4 separate regions of the Homo sapiens genome follow, and regions 1, 2 and 4 are each linked to region 3. Evidence: promoter capture Hi-C in 16 types of primary human blood cells and fetal thymus (Javierre and others, 2016). All regions are on one chromosome and are shown on one strand. Each heading gives the region's core, a stretch centred on a gene start or on the middle of the fragment in contact. The rest is flanking DNA. Distances are from core to core; before and after follow the strand shown. Region 1 holds the start of KRTAP2-3 (keratin associated protein 2-3). Region 2 overlaps KRTAP3-2 (keratin associated protein 3-2). Region 3 holds the start of KRT14 (keratin 14). Region 4 overlaps KRT40 (keratin 40).

Region 1 (3,350 bases), core at 604-3,103, 530 kb before region 3:
TTTCAGGCTTGAGCCACTGCACCTGGCCATCTGTTACTATGCTTATTACCTGGGTGATGAAATAATCTGTATACCAAAACCCTGTGACACACAATTTACCTATATAACAAACGTGCACATGTACCCCTGAACTTGAAATAAATTTAAATTAAAAAGACTAAAGACCCCTGCCCTCACAAAGCTTCCCTTGCCTCACTTCTCTCAATGGGCAGGTAGATATGCCCAGGAATACATGCTGAACAATCAAAGAAATCTCTTTTCTATCACATGCTAGGAACTAAAAAGATATTTATCAGGAAAATGATAGTGGTTAGCCTTCCTTACCAACATACAAGTATTTAACAAAATCAAAAATATATGCAGTATGGATTAATGTTATCAGCATTTCAACCGCATTGCAGTTGTTTAAATGGTTAAGATGTATGCGGAGCTCAAAACTAGGATGATTACAACCAAGGCTTCATTTCTCCCTGTCTTCTCAGCAGCAGCCACTCCACTGGAAGTAGAACTGGCCATGGTGGTGCTGACGGGAACCATGGAGAAGATGGGATAGTGGTTCCTCCAGCATAGGATGTTCAGTGGCTAGGGATTCCCAGGTCTTGTTTGACATCAATTACCGTACAGTTTCCTACATTGGTGAACAAATAGGGCTATAACTTAGCTTAGACTTCCTCCCCCTTATCATGTGTGTGAATTATTCATAAGTCAAGTTTATGTTTACAGAGACCTACTGTAGTCTCACCATTTCGTCAGCATCACCATAAAACCTGCGACTCGAAATATGAAGGTGAATCATGAGATGATCAGATTTATTTGAAATGCTATTAAAATTATAGACCTTCCACCTGAGTTGTTCCTATTCTAAAGCTCAAAAATGGCCCTTAGAAAATCTCTCCTTTCGTTCTTCTGGTTCTGCATGCTGTAATGTAAGCTAAATATGAGCTTTTGAAGAGCAATAAACAATAAATAAAAAGAAATGTTTGCTTCCCCAGAAATATAATTTTATTTTTTTTTACAGTGCAAAAATACAGCATACAAATAGTATTATCCTGGAAGAAAAAAATCTCATCTGAGAACCTTGAAACAGTAGAAAAAAGGGTGATGAGTCAGTGGGACAGAGTTCTATTCAAGAGGAGCTTTGATTTTTATTTACTCGTTTTTTTTTTCAAGCCAGGAATTCGAATGATGAAAGCTGGAATTTTTCTCAAGATTGTCAGAGAGGGCCAGGATTAGCTGCATAATTATGTGGGGAAATAGATAGGATGTTATTGTTGAATTCGTGCTTGAGGATCAGCTAGGCTGCAAAGGTGGAGTCTCTCATCTGATCCAGAAGGGGTAGAAGAGTCTGCACAAGCTTCTGTGCACCTGGGAATGTTTCGTGCGTTGAGAGGAGAGGTGGGGTCTCAGCAGGAGGAGGTCCTGCAGGTGGTGCTGCAAGGGGTCGGCTGGCCGCAGGGAGGCCGGCAGCAGGGGGACTGCACAGACACAGGCTGGCAGCAGGTGGTGGCCCAGCAGCAGGGCCTGCACACCACAGCCGTGCACGACGAGGGGCAGCAGGTGATGGGGCGGCAGCAGCCTTCCTGCAGGGAGCAGGGGTCGCAGCACACCGGGCGGCGGCAGGGCTCGCAGATGGGGCGCGTGCAGCGGGGCACGCAGGTCACGGGGCGGCACACGGTGGTCTGGCAGGTCACGGGGCGGCAGCAGCAGGGGTCGCGGCAGCAGCAGGGCTGGCAGCAGCCTCCCCCGTAGCTCAGGGAGGACAAGGTGGAGCCGCAGCAGGAGCCGGTCATGGTGGTGTCTGAGGCTGGTGTGGGTTGGGCTGTTGAGAGGAGCTGGATGTTCTCAGGTGTGAATGTCCTCGTTCCACTCTGGGCCCTTTATATATCCTAGCTGGATGCTGATGACCCCCAGGACATGAGGTCATTTCCTGGAGTTGTAGCTGCCCGTTGAAATGAGAACTCTGGATTTAACTGCTGAGGCAGCGATCCCTAAATCACTAAAGAATGCTTTGTTTTCTACCTGTCTACTTTTTCCCTAGAACGGAATACCTGGTCATGTATATCATCAGAACAATTGCTCATCTATCAGCTAGTCCTTCCAGGCCATGCCATGTGAGAAGGTGCAAGTTTGAAGAATCCAGCCACCATCACACTTTCCTCTTGTTCGCTGCCATCCGTGACTTAAGCATGGGACTGGAATGTTCATGAGTCACAGGCTGGGTTTCTGATTGGCATTGAGATCAAGCAAGAATTTCTTAAAAACCAAAATGGCTCATAAGAGCAGATGTGTATTGATTCTGCTATGGAAAGAATGGCCCAGTGTTTAATGACACAGTGCCTAACCTTGTTTATAAGAAAATCATCACCAAAGCTGCTAGACTGATTTTATTTTAGTAATCTGAGTTGGTTTATAACTCATTAACACTTATGAGACACTTATTATGTAGATGGTACTGTACTATTTGGGGGTGGAGGGGGAAAGGAAAGAAAAATAGCTTTCAAATAGTTTCCTATCACATAGTAATCATAACTTTTAGTAAGGCAAGACAAAGATAAATCAAGCAATTAAAGGGAAAGAACTTTTCTGGGAACAATAAGGTCAAACTAAATGGGGATTTCATTCATTCTGTGCCTTTCTGAATGCCCTTCCCTGATTATTGACCTAGAAATAAAATTGAAATTGGGCTATTTCTTGCTTTCTTGCTTTGACATATGCACTTTGTATTACATACTTAAAAATCTATGGACAATATCTACAAAGGAATCAATTATCTTTCTGTCACAGCTTCTTTAGTTTGTTGGCTGAGGGTTTTGTTTGTTTATGAGGTGGGAAGGTGGCATTATGAAAAAGACAAGGGGAATTAGTTTAGCTGGTGACCAATAAAATAGCTTTGTCTTTTCCAGCCATAGCAAAGATGAATAGGAATACAGAAAATAAATTTAGAGTTGGAAGGTAGATTAAAGATAACATTGTCCAAGGAATGCTGATGGTCTTCAGTGCAAATTTACCTCTGAGGTGTGTTTTGTTTTGTTTTCTCTTTTTAAAAATACACCCTTTGGTCTATCATATCCCTGATCTTTGAAGTCCTTTGAGTCTATGATCCATCATAGTCCATCACAGTTTTTGGAAGACCAGATTTACAAAATGAATTCCTCCAAAGTCGTACGGATCAAAGAGTGGCAAATATTTAGCAATACCACAGGTCTTCTGTGGAGTAGAAACACTGGTGATGTCTCCCAGTCTTTTTCCAACTCGGAGTCACTCAAAATAGATAACATGTAGCAGTAGTTATTAAAAAGTTTTATTCCCTTTAGTGAAATAAAATAAGTACTCACTTGATACATGGTTTA
Region 2 (2,933 bases), core at 70-2,569, 590 kb before region 3:
AAGCTCTTCTCTTTTATTGACAAGACTTGCAGCACTTTATTAAAATGTATTTTCTCTGCAGTGGTCTAAGAGACCTGAGAATTACTCTCCTTTGTTTATAAATGATGACAGTGATTCATAGAGAGGTGAGATGATTTGCCTTAGATGGTTCGGGAGCCAGTGTGTTAAAAACTAAATATAGGACCTATTGGGATTGAGCTACCTTTTATGTGGTTAGAAATGGAAGTTTAAACTATGTGTCAGAGATACTAAGCATTTTATTTTTAAAAACAACGCGTATCTTTTTTCTTTAAGTGAATGTAGGAAAAACATGGTGATTCTTGATGAGATGGTAGATTTTCGGGGTGCTAAAAATCTAGACACACACACACATACGCACACGCACACTCACACATCCAAGAAGTCCAGTTTTAATTATATCTTTCTATAGTCAATGGAGGGATCTGGGACAGTGCAGATGTAAATCAAAGATTAATAATGAAAAGAGACAGAAGCAAAACATGATTATATTGGTCTCTTGCTTGAAATATTTCATTGCTTCAAAGTTTCAGTCCAAACCCCTTTGCTTTGAGGAGCCCCTTATGTCTGGGTCTTTGCATTTCTGTCTTCTCTGCCTCACCCTCTTCAATGCATTGTTCATCCAGTCATTCCCAACTACCTCCTGTGGCTTAAAGACACCAACCTTTCCGCTGCCTCCATGATTTATTAAGCTGCTATTCTGTCTGGAACAACTGTTCCCTACCTCTCCTGCTGCCTATTCATCTTTTAAAGCTTAGACTGGATAGCTCAGAGGCTTTCCGTAGCTATTTCTCACCTTTGACACTGAATCACCAAATCAGGGTTTTAGTTATTCTTTCTGTATGCTTGCATGCCATGCTGCTCACCTCCCAGTCACAGCAGAATCCCTCAGCATTGCAATTATTATTATGATAACTTGTCTTTCTTCTTCACTAGATTTGGGAGAGACTTGAGGGCACTTGAGACTTGAGGTAATAGCATTTCTTTTATCTTTTTACTCCTGGCATCAATATGATGCCTGACATAGGGCAAACACTCAGGAAATATGGACAAATGAATGAGTGAATGGACTAGATCTCTTGTTGACAATATCCTCTGTAGTGTCCCATAGACTCCATGGCTGCTAAGTTCTGTTCATTTAAGGTTGAGCTGTAAAAAGCCTATGGAATCCCGTGAGAAATTTCTCTCTCAAGACACTAACAGGTACATTGAGGACATTTTAAAACAAGTTTGTTAAAAAGCATTTGCTTCTCCCCTTCCTTGTCCTACTCTGTTTCTTGCATGTCTTCTTGTGGTTTTATTTCAATGCATTTTCAGATTTTGACTTGTGTCTTTATATATGTATTGTGTATAGATATACATACACACATATATTTATATGTGTTACATAAATGTATTGGATGTATTATATATATAATATATACTTGTTCTCTCTAGGCTTGGAAAAGAAAAATCTTCATGAGATAAAATTAAGTAGGTTGATAAAATTAAGTAACGAATTAAAGCATACGTAATCAGAGTTTTAGCTCTCAACCTGAGACACCTGAAAAGTATTGGCATTCTATTGATTACTGTGGTAGAACATCTGTGCTGAGTATGGTGGCAAATAAAGGTATGTCCCTGGTGCCTTGTTACTAGAGTTGACCACTTTGAGTTCTCTCTAAGAGAAAATGAAGTTGAAATAGGTACACCTTCAAAATGCCCAGATTTTAGAATTGAATACTTGCCAATTTTAATCTATGAACCAATGTACTCTTTTTCTATTATAATCCGATGTGGATTTTGTTAAAGAATCTTACATGTTTTATTTCTCTTGCATATTTTGGGTTTATTTCATAACTGTGCTCATTAAGCTTCTGGTTTCATTAGTATTGAAGGTTCTATGATGTGGTAGGAAAAATTGGGCTTTAGAGTCAGACATACAAGAGGCTGAATTCTGATTTTCTAAGTAATTAACTTTATGACTTTCAGAATGTTGAATAACGCTTAAAACTTCATTTTTTCTTATCCATTAGTGCTGTTTTAAGGACTAAATCAATAATTTACTGGTGAAGAGTAGATAAATAAATGTTGGTTCACACCAAAATTGCACTTGTCTGAGGAAGAAGAGAGAAGAGAAGGCAAACATGAAAGAGAACCTGTTAAAAGTTAGCAAGCCATGTTAGTAGTAGCAAGAATGTTAGTCATTCTGCCAATAGAGTCTTCTTTAAAAGATTAAAATAATCATCCTGTTTTTACCTTTTTAAAATGGAAGAAATATACCCAAAACTAACATAAACAAATGACACATCTTGCCAGAGAAATATAGTTTATTGGAAAACCCACCAAGAAATTTTCTTCTATGAAAATACCCAGTACAAGAAACAAGAGCCAGGAAGCAATATGATCAAGAACATGTAATCTGAGGTCTTAAAGATTGAAACAGTATTTTGCTAATAAAACTCATTCACCTGCCCACAGGAACCAAATGGTTTTTCAGCTAAATAACCATAAAAAATACTTTTCTTTTTTTCCCCCATTAAAACCAAAGGTAAGTTCTTCATATCTGGGTCATCTGGTCTACCTTAACATCTGGCAAACTACTGAGGCAAGTGAATACTGAAGGGACAGCTTCTGGATTCTTCGTTGTCGGGCACTGAGCAAAGTAGCCATCCATCAGCAGCCTCTTGGGAGGCAGGGCTCACAGCAGGGCTGAGTGAAGGTGGTGAGGTTGAGGGTCTCCAGGCCCGGAGTTGGCTGGCAGGAGTTGAGCAGGAAGCAGGTGGGCACGCAGGGCTGAGGAATGTGGCAGGGTGGGGGACAGTTGTCACAGCAGATGGGCTCCAGTAACCAAACTGTGTGTGGGCAGGTGCTGGGCAGGCAGACTCCACAGCGGCAGGATTTGTCGGAGGAGCAGATGGTGGTGGCAGGCCCAG
Region 3 (2,964 bases), core at 376-2,875:
CCGGGCTTAGAATCGAAAGCCCAGGAGTTCTGGTCCCAATTCTGCCAGTGTCTTGCTGCAAAACCTAATGGGTCTTGGGGCTTCAAGTTCCCCACCTCCAGGTGAGGAGAATAATCTGAGGCTCCCTAGCCCTCCTTCCTGAGCTGACCTCTCTTCTGTCTGCATCAGCCAGCCCTGCCAGTCCTCTGCAGATATGCACATTCCTTTTCAAGCTCACAGGCCATGGGACTTCAAGTGGAACTTTCTCAAGAGATAAAACCCAACTAACACAGGGGATTAGAAAAGAGGACTCAGGGGAAGAATAAGAAGATATATTGGCCCCTGAGTCTGGTTGGATTTCCCCACCTCATCATTGAATTTCCCTAATCCATGCAAGTCATTAGAGCCCAACAGACTCCAGCAGGGAGGGCTCCCAAGTAATGTGGGAGCAGGGAGGAGGGGGCTAGAGTCAGGGCACAAGCCTGCCAGGCTCTCTCTGTGCAGGGCACATCAAGGGACCACACTAATTGTCTCTGCAGGCTCTCCATGCCCGCCTGGCTGTGGGGAGGGACCAGCCTGTACCAAGGCTTATGGGCGGCGGCAGCCACAGCCCAGACTAGTGAGCTAATGAGTGGTTTGGATGTCTTGCCTGGTCCCGTTAGAGCCTCACTCCTCCCCTGTGCTGGAGAACAAGTAGCTGCCTCCTGTGCTGGAAGGTAGGGCACAAGGGCCCCAGCCTTGGCTCTGCCATTAATTTGCTATGTGACCTGCAGCTGGTCACAGCACCTCTCGAAGCTTCAACTGCTTCCTCTAAAAAATGTAAGGATAGGAATCACTGATCTCACATGGTCTGAGGATTTGAGATCAGAAGGGGATGAGGAGGCTGGGGAAGGGAAAGCATCTTCTCACTGATCAGTCTTAGGGCATCCAAGACCTCGAAAGAAGGGATCTGGGGTGGACTCTGTCCTATAGAGAAATCTTAAGGTCTCAGGGGCCTGGGGCATGAATTGTTCCCAGAAGGAGCTAGCTGGAATGGTGCCTTCTGCTGCCCATTCACCCACCTTGTTCCTCAGGTCCTCAATGGTCTTGAAGTAGGGACTGTAGTCTTTGATCTCAGCAGGCCGCTGCCTCTGGTACCAGTCACGGATCTTCACTTCCAGGTCGGCGTTGGCCTCCTCCAGAGCACGCACCTTGTCCAGGTAGGAGGCCAGGCGGTCATTGAGGTTCTGCATGGTCACCTTCTCACTGCCCACCAGAAGCCCATCACCACCAGCAAAGCCACCACCAAAGCCACCACCCAAGCCAGCACCAAGGCCACCACCATATCCTCCCCCAAAGCCACTACCAAAGCTGCTGCTGCTGCTGCTGAAGCCACCGCCATAGCCGCCCCCCAGCCCGCAGGCTCCCCCAGAGGAGAAGCGGGAGGATGAGACAGACAGGCCGCCCCCGTAGGTGCTGGGGGCGCGGCAGGACCCTCCGGCCAGGACGGAGGAGATGCGGCTGGAGCCGCCCCCGATGCCGCCCCCGATGCCGCAGGAGCCCTTCATGGAGCTGGAGGAGGTGAACTGGCGGCTGCAGGTGGTCATGGTGCAGAGGAGGGAGGTGAGCGAGCGAGCAGTTGGCTGAGTGAAGAGAAGGTGCTCGGGTAAATTGGAAAGGGATGCGAGTGCTTTATACTCGTGGGTAGGGGGCGGGTCTGGCACTTTCCATTCCCCTTGGCTTTCATCACCCACAGGCTAGCGCCAACTCCCAGCCAGGTCCCTCCTCTCATCCGCCTCATCATGTCTGTCATATTTTACTGGAAACTCATTGTTTGGAGTGTTTTGGGCTTTCTTGTCCCGCCAGGCGTGATTCACAGGGGGAGGTGTGGGCCTGCAGGCTACACTTTCCCATCGGACCCTGGGAGTCCCAGCCCTCAGGAACCCGCGCACTGGGCTTAGCCAGGGTGACAGAGAGCAGGGCCTCTGCACCTTAAACCTAGTTACCTGCTAGCTCTCCATGAACTGAATGGGCCTTTAACATCCACGTAGAGGAAGCCTGCTGCTGCAGGGGATGGATACCCGGCTGGAAAGCACCGGCATGGCAAGGTCACCTTGGGCACAGACAGGCCTCCCTCACCATGACCCTCTATTAGAGACAAGGAGGTCTGGGGGGCCCTCCCAGGCCTGACCTCCCATGCTGTGCTGAGAAGTCTGTCCCATCCCTGAAATACACCCAGCTAGTCAGGTGTATCGTGGTTCCCACCCCAACATCCCCATCAAAGAGAAATCCAGGCAGCTCTCCCCAGCCCTGAGCACAGACCCTAATCTCCTCCCTATGGTGAGGATCTCACATCCACCACACCATAGGGCAGGTGGCCTCATGGAGGCCAGGAAACAGCCTGGAGTCAGGTGGGTCCTGGCTCTGCCATTTACGCCTCTGTGACCCAGGGCTTGGCACTTCTCTGAGCCTCAGTGTTCTCATCTGCAAAGTGGGAGTCATACCATCTATTCTGCTTAGTGCAGTCAGCTCTGAGAATCCAATGCGACAATGTATGTGAAAGGGTTTTGTAAACCGAGTATGGCAAGAAGCCTCGTTGGCATTGTTATAGCCCAGGCTTAGCCCCAAAGTGGCTGGAGCTGCATCCAGGAACAGGCCTAGGGGGGCCTTTTATTCTTCCAGCCCCAGATATCTTCTCAGACCCCCAGAACATCCCTAGTGTGGGCAGCTCAGGCGCCCTCGTTTGAGCCCCTTGTGGAACTGGCCCAGGAGATGTTCTGGGGAGGAGTAGAGGCTGGAGTGGAGCTGGGCTGTGCCAAGGGCAAGGCTGAGGTGGACACGAGGGTCCCTGACTCCTGAAGCCCCAAGGGTCAGGGGACATTTCTAGGAGTCCACTTGGTCCTGCTTTGGAGGTGTGTATATCAAAACTTCAGCAATCTCCCAGACAACCTCCCAAAGCAAACCCTTCCGGCCCCCACCCCACCCTCCCATCAGCCCCTAGGCTCC
Region 4 (3,108 bases), core at 319-2,818, 610 kb before region 3:
TGCCAGCCATACTGCCACTGTTCTACGTGTCAACTATCACTACCACCACTATGACTACAGCAATACATGACATATTTGTGAAGCTTAAGGACTATCCACAACATATGAGAGGAAAGATTGAGTTTGGGCTCTTGGCAGGGAGGGGTAGTATAGTGCTATTAAGAGAAGAGGCTCTGGATACCAGAGGCTGGGACTGGCATATGTGTGGTAAGGGGATGAAGAGAGGTTGGTTAATGGGTGCAAACATACAGTTAGACAGAAAGAATATGTTTTCATGTTGGACAGCAGAGAAGTGTGACTACAGTTAACAACAATACACTGTGCATTTCAAAATAGCTAGATGGGAGGACTTGAAATGCTCCCAACACATAGAAATGATAAATACTTGAGGTGATGGATGCTCTAAATATCCTGACTTGATCATTACACATTCTATGCATGTAACAAAATATCACATCTACGTAAAAAAAATTTACGCATATTATATATCAATAAAAATAAATTTAAAAAGAGAGAGAGAAGAGACTCTGGGATTCAACTGGCTGAACTCAGCTTCCAAGTTTGCCTCTTAGAATTGCATCCTTTGCAAGTTACTTAATCTGAGTCTCAGTTTTCCTTATCTGTGTCATGGGATAAAGGTATCTATCCGGTAAAGTTACTGTGAGCCTTAAATCAGCATAGTGCCTCTCACAGGATGAATGCTCAGCTATTGTTCTTCTAGGTGTTCTCCGCAGGGCCTAATGACATGCACACAGTGGTGCTTGACCAGAACTGGTTCATGTCATCTTGAACGCATGGTGTTCCTGTTGCTTGAGTGGGGGGTGGTGCAGTGAAGGATAAGGTTGAAGTGTAGATCCTGGGAAACTGTAGGATGAAATGTTTGAAAATGATTCTTTGTTTTAGATATAACAGTGAGCCTGGAAAACTGGCCTGAATCAAATGAGAATTAAAACCTGCCAGAATGCTTAAGCGACCATGGCCCGGAGGTTTCTCTCCAGCTCTGCTTCTCCCTCCCTGTCTCTGGAGGCTGCTGCAGCATCAGACTCAAGCCCAGGAGTGAAGGTAAGGCATCTTAGAGGACAAGCTGTGGACCTGTCACTTCTGCTTCTATTAATAGCTGGGTAAACGGCAGTACTCGGGAAAGGCAAGGAAATGTGATCCTCGGATATGGAAGAGGGCTTAACATCTCAGGGCCTGACTTATCAGTGACACAACGGACACTGCCTTTGCCTCACGCACCAGGCTTTGCTGTGCTTGGAGCTCAATTTCCAGAGCACTGGCTGTGCGTTTCAGTTCCAAGATCTCCATCTGGCAGCCCTGCAGCTGCTCCGCGCTGGACAGTTGCTGCTGATTCAGCTCTTCTGTCTGAAACACAGACACCATTAGAGAATTCAAAAAAGGCAGAAGTCTGTAAGCCTGACATTTTTTCAATCTGGGTACTGACCTGAACAGCCAACCATTCTTCAGCTTCTCTGCGATTGTTGGCAAGCACCGTTTCACACTGACAGCGCATCTCATCCAGGACCCTGTTGAGGTCAAGGGTGGGGGCAGTGTCCAGCTCCACACTGAGGCGGTCGCCAAGCTGTTCACGAAGCAAGTTGACTTCCTGAAAGTGGGATGGTGTAAAGAATGTCACAGAATGGTGGGGAAAAATCCATTTGACATCCAATGGCATTCTACTTCTGTTTTTTGGAGCAGTGGGTAAAAGTGTGAGATTTTGATTCAGATTGCCTGGGCTGAATCTCTTTTCACCACTTAGAAGGGCCTCAGTTTCTTCGTCTGTAAAATGGACATAATAATTGGACATTTTTCCAGAAAGTTATTGTGAGATCTAGAAGAGTCAATCTACACATAATTAACTTATAAAAGTTAATTATGACACATAGTAAGGTGTCAATAAATGTTAGCTATGATTGTCATCAACAAACGTTCAAAGAGCAAATGTACTTTGTTACATCATTCAGCTTTTCATTTTCTAGCTTTATCAATATATCAGTGGCTGTATATTTTATGATTTTTAGAAGTTTATAAATGCGGAATATTTAAAAACACTGGTCCAGATAGTGCACAGTCTTTATCCCTTTTTTGAAATGGACTTCACAGTCTGTTCCTCAGCCTGATTTTCATACCCTGTGGACTGGAGCTAGGGGTGGCATAAAGCCTCCAAAGGAAGCCATTTGTGAAGTTACCTCCTCCACAAAGGCAAGGGCAGGAGAAGAGTTTGATTCCTTCCTCTGGCGCTGTCTAGGGGTTATTTCACACCTTAAATCAGAGACACACTGGAATGATCAGGTTGAATAGTAATAATGCCTCGAGTAGTTTTTGTTTGTTTGTTTGTTTGTTTGTTTTTTGAGATGGAGTCTCGCCCTGTCACCCAGGCTGGAGTGCAGTGGTAAGATCTCGGCTCACTGCAACCTCCGCCTCCTGAGTTCAAGTGATTCTCCTGCCTCAGCCTCCCGAGTAGCTAGGACTACAGGCGCCTGCCACCATGCCCAGCTAATTTTTGTATTTTTAGTAGAGATGAGGTTTCATCATATTGGTCAGGCTGGTCTCGAACTCCTGACCTTGTGATCCTCCTGCCTCAGCCTCCCAAAGTGCTTGGATTACAGGTGTGAGCCACCATGCCTGGCCCTGCCTCAAGTAGTTTTATTCCAGCTTAAACAACATCTGCCCAAATTCGATTTACAAACATCAACAGATCATCTGTCAATGTAAGTACGTTACTCTCGGAGTCCTTCAGCGGAGTTGCCACTTTCCTTACCTCTTCATGGTTTTTCTTAAGGCAAAGGAGATCTTCCTTCAGAGACTCCACATGGGCCTCCAGATCAGATTTGCACAGGGTCAGTTCCTCCAGGATCCCATGCAGGCTGCTGATGTCAGCCTCTAACAGCTGGCGAAGGGACAGTTCACTCTCGTACCTTTCACAGCAAAAGAGAAATCCAACGCTTACTTTGCTGAACGCTGTGCAAAGTGTGGGGATACATGGAGGATCGACACACGGACTTCAGGAAGCCATGTGCATAATTTCTCTTAATTCCTAAGTAATGATAAATTCAAGCTTTTAAAACATTCTTAACTTTAAAATATTATATAGAGAATATTTGTGTG

Evidence for each region. The method cuts DNA at HindIII sites, captures the fragments that hold promoters and counts their contacts. A CHiCAGO score of 5 or more calls a contact.
Region 1: the fragment with the promoter of KRTAP2-3 here is called in contact with the fragment with the promoter of KRT14 in region 3 in 4 of 17 cell types (naive CD8 T cells, total CD4 T cells, total CD8 T cells and 1 more); the score reaches 6.1 in naive CD8 T cells.
Region 2: a contact is called between a fragment that was not itself captured here and the fragment with the promoter of KRT14 in region 3, in 3 of 17 cell types (activated CD4 T cells, total CD8 T cells and naive CD8 T cells). The highest score is 7.0, in activated CD4 T cells.
Region 4: a fragment that was not itself captured here is called in contact with the fragment with the promoter of KRT14 in region 3 in 4 of 17 cell types (activated CD4 T cells, total CD4 T cells, naive CD8 T cells and 1 more); the score reaches 7.2 in activated CD4 T cells.

What each region holds. Positions count from the first base shown.
Region 1 is chr17:41,058,261-41,061,610 of GRCh38, forward strand. It overlaps KRTAP2-3 (keratin associated protein 2-3), which reads right to left and starts at 1,854. Exons shown (of 1, transcript NM_001165252.2): 1 at 980-1,854. The coding sequence starts at 1,790. The coding sequence ends at 1,404. RefSeq lists enhancers at 1,024-1,598, 1,599-2,173. The HindIII fragment of the contact is 5,271 bases long and covers 1,353-3,350 here.
Region 2 is chr17:40,996,884-40,999,816 of GRCh38, forward strand. It overlaps KRTAP3-2 (keratin associated protein 3-2), which reads right to left. Exons shown (of 1, transcript NM_031959.3): 1 at 2,310-2,933. The coding sequence ends at 2,674. Among named protein-coding and RNA genes, the nearest start is that of KRTAP3-2, 1.6 kb to the right of the region's middle. The HindIII fragment of the contact is 1,100 bases long and covers 770-1,869 here.
Region 3 is chr17:41,585,270-41,588,233 of GRCh38, forward strand. It overlaps KRT14 (keratin 14), which reads right to left and starts at 1,626. Exons shown (of 8, transcript NM_000526.5): 1 at 1,041-1,626. The coding sequence starts at 1,565. RefSeq lists an enhancer at 28-529. The HindIII fragment of the contact is 10,096 bases long and covers 773-2,964 here.
Region 4 is chr17:40,979,546-40,982,653 of GRCh38, forward strand. It overlaps KRT40 (keratin 40), which reads right to left. Exons shown (of 7, transcript NM_001389244.1): 3 at 2,762-2,918; 4 at 1,445-1,606; 5 at 1,240-1,365. LOC107985072 (a long non-coding RNA gene) reads left to right here. Exons shown (of 4, transcript XR_001752886.2): 3 at 904-1,062; 4 at 2,783-3,108. Among named protein-coding and RNA genes, the nearest start is that of KRT40, 3.2 kb to the right of the region's middle. RefSeq lists an enhancer at 461-1,062. The HindIII fragment of the contact is 2,975 bases long and covers 82-3,056 here.